Regions from separate parts of the Homo sapiens genome. Here region 2 is linked to region 1. Evidence: promoter capture Hi-C in human tissues and cell types (Jung and others, 2019). All regions are on one chromosome and are shown on one strand. Each heading gives the region's core, a stretch centred on a gene start or on the middle of the fragment in contact. The rest is flanking DNA. Distances are from core to core; before and after follow the strand shown.

Region 1 (3,012 bases), core at 452-2,951:
GCATAAGAACTGGGACCCTTCTAGGCAGGGTGCAGTGGCTCACGCCTGTAATCCCAGCACTTTGGGAGGCCCAGGCAGGCGGATCACCTGAGGTCAGGAGTTCAAGACCAGCCTGACCAACCTGGAGAAACCCCGTCTCTACTAAAAATACAAAAAATTAGCTGGGCGTGGTGGTAGGCACCTGTAATCCCAGCTACTTGGGAGGCTGAGGCAGGAGAATCTCTTGAACCCGGGAAGTGGAGGTTGCGGACCTGAGATCATGCCATTGCACTCCAGCCTGGGCAAGAAGAGCGAAACTCCATCTTAAACAAACAAACAAAAAAAAAAGAACTGGGACCCTTCTGCCATCTGACATAGCCCAAAGCACATCTCTATCCTTTCTCCCAGTTGCCCCTCTCCTTTTTTGTTGTTTTTTTTGAGGTTGAGTTTTGCTCTTGTTGCCCAGGCTGGAGTGCAATAGTGCAATCTTGGCTAACTGCAACCTCCGCCTCCCAGGTTCAAGCAATTCTCCTGCCTCAGTCTCCCGAGTAGCTGGGATTACAGTCATGCATCACCATGCCTGGCTAATTTTGTATTTGTAGTAGAGATGGGGTTTCTCCATGTTGGTCAGGCTGGTCTCAAACACCTGACCTCAGGTGATCTGCCTGCCTTGGCCTTCCAAAGTGCTGGGATTACAGGCATGAGCCACCGCGCCCGCCCTGCCCCTTTCCAAGAGATATGCTCAGCATAATGAGAGATCAACCGTGGTGGGGAGTGGGTCCAAGTAAGGGTTCTCATTGTTGCCTTTTAAGAGGCCTAAGTCCTGCATTAACTCAGTCCAACCATTAAGTGATGCAGGCTGCTCTTCCCTCATGTGAGAAAAACCTGTTTCCCTCTGGTTCTTCCTGGCTTTGCACCTGGTGGCTATTACAAAGCAGTACTGCAGTATGTCTTGGACCTGGAAAGTTGGACATGTGTGTGGCTCAACAGTTTTCTCGGGGGAGTTCAGTGACCTTTTGGTGGCCACCCTCTGTTCTCACCTGTGAGTTCTTGCAGGTGGCGACTTCATCTGCAAGGTCACTTACATAGCCCCACTCAGCTGCTTCGGAAAGCGTGACGAAGCAGTAGTCCTCAGTGTGTGTGTAAGTGAAGAGGACCTTGTGGTAGCAGGGACCATGCTTCATTCGTGGCTGTGTCCCCATCTGAGGGCCTGGTATGCAGTAAGATCAATAAATACTTGTGGAATGCATGACTGCTGGCTGCCTGTGTCTGCCTGGTGGGAGAGCTGTGGAACTAGGGGTCCACATGAGGACAGACTACTGTGGTGCTGCCTACCTGCCAGGCTGGCCCACCTTCCCCACCCCCACTTGACCTTACTCTCTTGAGGTCCTAAAGGTATGATTCAGACCTTTCAGCCCTTTCCAGAACTTTGACCCTCTGGAGACAGGGCGGTTCTGCAGGGGGCGGTCTAGCCCCTAGCTTTGTTCTGGGCAGCCCAATCAGCTCTGGATTGCCCGAGCTGCCCTGAAGAGTCAGCCGAAAGAGCTGGAGGCTTCTTCCCTGTGGTTGCGGGTTCCTGCATTCTCTGCTCTAAATCCCAGCCTGCCCTTGGGGCTGCCCACGCCCCCTTCAGATCCTTTGCTCCGGAGAGAGACCTGTCCGAGCAGAGGCCTGGACTACATCTCCCGGCGTGCCTGGCAGTGTGGTGGCCTCTGTGCGCCGTCTGCACTCGTTGCAGGCGACGATGCAGAGGGCTGTAAGTGTGGTGGCCCGTCTGGGCTTTCGCCTGCAGGCATTCCCCCCGGCCTTGTGTCGTCCACTTAGTTGCGCACAGGTGGGATAGAGGGTGCTGATCTTGGAGGGTGGGGGAGGGAAGCGGCTGGGGGCTAGGGCCCTGGTGGCACTAAGCCCAGCCGCCCACAGGAGGTGCTCCGCAGGACACCGCTCTATGACTTCCACCTGGCCCACGGCGGGAAAATGGTGGCGTTTGCGGGTTGGAGTCTGCCAGTGCAGTACCGGGACAGTCACACTGACTCGCACCTGCACACACGCCAGCACTGCTCGCTCTTTGACGTGTCTCATATGCTGCAGGTGAGCCAGGGGAGCACACTGGCCATCTGATCAGGCCTTCCTCCCTGTTTACAGTGGTCCACTCCTTGGCTTTGTTTGCTGTGAACTGGATTCCAAGGACAGCCTTCTCAGAAGAGCTAGAGGTCATGGGGGTGTCATGGATAGGTCAATGGCCCCAAGGAAATGAGCTCAGAGGGTCTCATCATCTCATCCTTCTAGCTTGCCCCCATTAAATGGTGTGCCTTAATGTCCCGGGTTTTCCAGGGCTGACACCCACTCTCATGTATTGGGCTGGATGTTGGTTTGAAAAGGGGTTATTTCAGGAAGGTGCTAGGTCCTGTCCAGTTCCCTGGCAGTCCCCCCACACAGAGTGACTGGGGGAGGTCAGGAAATCAGAAGGTGGTCCTTTGCCACGTGTAGAACCAAAAGACTGGTTAGTCACTTTGGGTGGGCTGGACTGCACTGTGGATGGCAGGGAGGATGCATCCTTGCTTAGTAGCCTTTTGGATTGTAGCTGTTGCAATGGCCTGAGGCTTTCAATCTCTTCCCCAGACCAAGATACTTGGTAGTGACCGGGTGAAGCTGATGGAGAGTCTAGTGGTTGGAGACATTGCAGAGCTAAGACCAAACCAGGTGGGCCCTTTTATTTCTGCTCTATGAGTTTTCTTAGTCATGAGCCAGCAAATGGGCTGAGTCCCTACCTCAGGCTTAGGGGCACAGAGATGAGTCAAACACAGCTTCTCAGGGCTTGCAGTCTTGGACAGAATCCCTGAGTCATTTCCAGAGACACAGACATTTGTAGGGAGGGGAATATCCCAGTCTTACTACATCAGGCTAGGAGGCCAGAAACCAAGGTTAATATGCTGCTCTCTGGCCATCCCTTCTGCTTAACCCCTCTCTATTCAACATGTGGTCCCTGGCCAGGCGACGTGACTCAAACACCTGTAATCCTGGCACTTGGGG
Region 2 (3,457 bases), core at 715-3,214, 340 kb after region 1:
AGTTTCATAACTTTCTAATGTTACCGGATCTCTATTATGAAAGATGCCTTTTTTTTTTTTTTTGAGATAGAGTCTCAGTCTGGCGCCCAGGCTGGAGCGCAGTGGCACGATCTCGGCTCACCGCAACCTCTGCCTCCTGGGCTCAAGCAATTCTCCTGCCTCGGCCTCCCGAGTAGCTGGTATTACAGGTGCCTGACACCATGCCTGGCTAATTTTTGTATTTTTAGTAGAGACAGGGTTTCGCCTTGTTGGCCAGGCTGGTCTCAAACTCCTGACCTCAGGTGATCTGCCTGCCTTTGCCTCCCAAAGTGCTGGGATTACAGGCGTGAGCCACCGCACTGGGCTGAAAGATGCCTTCTTAAGGAAATCGCTACTGTGCTATTAACAAAGGGGAACTTTGATACATTCTGTGCAAGTGTGGCAAATGAGTGCTCTCGGATCACCTAAGCCAAGTAGCCTTCTCTGAATCTGTAGTTAGGCAAAGTGTGCTTGGCCTGATGCTCTCTTTATGTGTGATGTGGACATCGTTGACCACTTAATTATTATTATTTTATTATAGTATTTTATTATAATTGTTATAATATTTAATTATTATAATTATAATATTTTTATATTTATGTAAAAATTATATTTATATTACATAATTGTAATTATTATAATATTTTATTATAATTATTTATTTTATTTTATTTATTTATTTCTTTTAACAGATGAAAGTCTCTCTAGGTTTCCCAGCCCAAAGACCTGGTCTCAAGCAATCCTCCACCTCAGCCTCCTGAGTAGCTGAGACTACATGTGTGCACCACTGTGACCAGCTGATAACTTAATTTTTTTGTTTGTTTGTTTGTTTGTTTTTTTTAGACAGAGTTACGCTCTGTCGCCTAGGCTGGAGTGCATTCGAGTGATCTCGGGTCACTGCAGCCTCGATCTCTGGGCTCAAGCAATCCTTCTACCTTAGCCTCCGTAGTAGCTGGGACTACAGGTGCATACCACCATACCCAGTTAATTTTTATATATTTTTTGTAGAGATGGGGTTTCTCCATGTTGCCTGGGCTGAGGTGGAAGGATTGCTTGAGTCCGTGGAGCTATGGATATTACAGAAACCAATTGGGTGGCTCACGTCTATAATCCCAGCACTTTGGGAGGCCGAGGCGGGAGGGTCACCTGAAGTCAGGAGTTTGAGACCAGCCAGGCCAACATGGCAAAACCCAGTCTCTACTAAAAATACATAAATTAGCTGGGCATGGTGGTGGGCACCTGTAGTCCCAGCTACTCGGGAGGCTGAGGCAGGAAAATCACTTGAACCTGGGAGGCTGCAGTGAGCCGAGATCGTGCCACTGCACTCCAGCCTGGGCGACAGAGGGAGACTCCAACTCAAAAAAAAAAAAAAAAAAAAAGGACAGGTGTGGTGGCTCACGCCTGTAATCTCAGCACTTTGGGAGGCTGAGGCAGGCGGATCACGAGGTCAGGAGATCGAGACCATCCTGGCTAAGATGGGGAAACCTCGTCTCTACTAAAAATACAAAAAAATTAGCTGGGCGTGGTGGTGGGCGCCTGTAGTCCCAGCTACTCGGGAGGCTGAGGCAGGAGAATGGTGTGAACCCAGGAGGTGGAGCTTGCAGTGAGCCAAGATCAAGCCACTGCACTCCAGCCTGGGCAACAGAATGAGACTCCATCTCAAAAAAAAAAAAAAAAAAAAAAAAAAGGAACCATAATTCTTCGTTTTCCACATTGAATTTCAAATGCAGCAGGTATATATGAAGCAACTACCATGGGTGAGCTATTCGGAGAGAACCAGGACATAGTCTTGTCTACCAAGAACTTAGAGCCTAGGTAGAAGAAAGGAGACGTTTACCCACATATTTTATATCTGTAACATAAGGTAGAGCATCTGGTCAGTCTAGTGTATCTATCCTGATTGCTCAAGGGAACAAATCACCTTTCCAGACATTCAGAATTGTCTGATAATCCTTTTTGGCAAAAACGTTCGCTTGTTTTCTGTTACTCTTTCATCCTGCTGCTACTTTTGTTCTGGAGGTCGGGCTGTTGAAGGGAGGATGGTACAAAGGTAGCAGCGACAGGGGTCAGCAGTCCACAGATTGCACACTTTTCCCTCAGATGATGAGAGTTAACTGTACGTCTGCAGGTTAATTCTTAAGGTAATTAAATACCTGATGAAAACTTGTAGAATTTATTTCTGAATTTTAGTAGTGACCTGGATATTTAAAGCACTATTTACCTTTTTTCCAGAATTATTTTAATAGTATTAGTTACATTTCTGTAGTGCTATCTATGTGCTAGATGATTTTCTAAATGCCTTATTTAATCCTTATGTCAACTGTGAGGTAAGTACTATTGTGTCCCCATTTACTCACAAGAAAACTAAGGTTAATTGACTTTTCTAGAGTTACATAATAAAGGAGACATAAAGTTGGGATTTGAACCCAGGCAGCCTGGCTCCAGAGTCCATGCTTTTAACCAGTAGTAAGCTGTGTTGCAAAAGAATGTGAGCACCACATGGCAAAATAGGATTTTTGGTTTTTCTGATGGGAGATGAAGAACATATCCTCTGCCTCTTGTGTCTTGCCACAACTAGGTGGCATACCTATCTCTGCTGTAGGAAATACTTGGAAATAAAACATATCCATAGGAATCCCTGCCCCTAGCTTCCTCCTTGCTTGGTGTCCTCTCTGTGATGGTCACAGAGCAGTTTTGCATGTGACATTTACTGTCCAGTGCTTGGCTCTGCAGAGAAGATGGGATTGACCTAGTGCTGGGTAGGAAGTGTGTTTTCAGCCTGTTTCATCCAGTATTGTGAAGCATGTGTTTGTTTTTTTGTTTTCAGTGTGATAGTTTTATTTAAGAAATGTTAATAGAAATAATTTTCAAACATCCATTAATTGAAAAAATAAGGTGGTATAATAAAACTTTATTTTTTGATTCTATATGTATACAGCTGCCCTGAATATATTCCACTCTTGTGCAAGGGTAATTGCTTCTGGGCATTTCCTGCTAAAAACAGTAACATAATTTTGACTTCTGTTTATTTCTAGGAACCCTAAGGACTCTGCAATATGAATAATTCCCTAGAGAACACCATCTCCTTTGAAGAGTACATCCGAGTAAAGGCACGGTCTGTCCCGCAACACAGGATGAAGGAATTTCTGGACTCACTGGCCTCTAAGGGGCCAGAAGCCCTTCAGGAGTTCCAGCAGACAGCCACCACTACCATGGTGTACCAACAGGGTGGGAACTGCATATACACAGACAGCACTGAAGTGGCTGGGTCTTTGCTTGAACTTGCCTGTCCAGTCACCACCAGTGTTCAGCCACAAACCCAGCAAGAACAGCAGATCCAGGTTCAGCAGCCGCAGCAGGTTCAGGTATATGGGAAATGCTGAGGTGCAGCCTGTTTAATGTACTTTATTTGTTGTCAGTGTTTTAGTTAGTGGGCTCA

Evidence for each region. The method cuts DNA at HindIII sites, captures the fragments that hold promoters and counts their contacts. A contact is called where the count stands out against the background at its distance.
Region 2: a fragment that was not itself captured here is called in contact with the fragment with the promoter of AMT in region 1 in 3 of the 25 tissues and cell types used here (dorsolateral prefrontal cortex, liver and mesenchymal stem cells).

What each region holds. Positions count from the first base shown.
Region 1 is chr3:49,421,162-49,424,173 of GRCh38, reverse strand. It overlaps AMT (aminomethyltransferase), which reads left to right and starts at 1,701. Exons shown (of 9, transcript NM_000481.4): 1 at 1,701-1,813; 2 at 1,903-2,070; 3 at 2,602-2,682. The coding sequence starts at 1,724. It overlaps NICN1 (nicolin 1, tubulin polyglutamylase complex subunit), which reads left to right. Exons shown (of 6, transcript NM_032316.3): 6 at 1-1,841. RefSeq lists enhancers at 1,320-2,073, 2,074-2,826. The HindIII fragment of the contact is 4,289 bases long and covers 904-3,012 here.
Region 2 is chr3:49,076,635-49,080,091 of GRCh38, reverse strand. It overlaps QRICH1 (glutamine rich 1), which reads left to right. Exons shown (of 10, transcript NM_198880.3): 2 at 3,054-3,383. The coding sequence starts at 3,075. Among named protein-coding and RNA genes, the nearest start is that of QRICH1, 16 kb to the left of the region's middle. The HindIII fragment of the contact is 7,025 bases long and covers 1-3,457 here.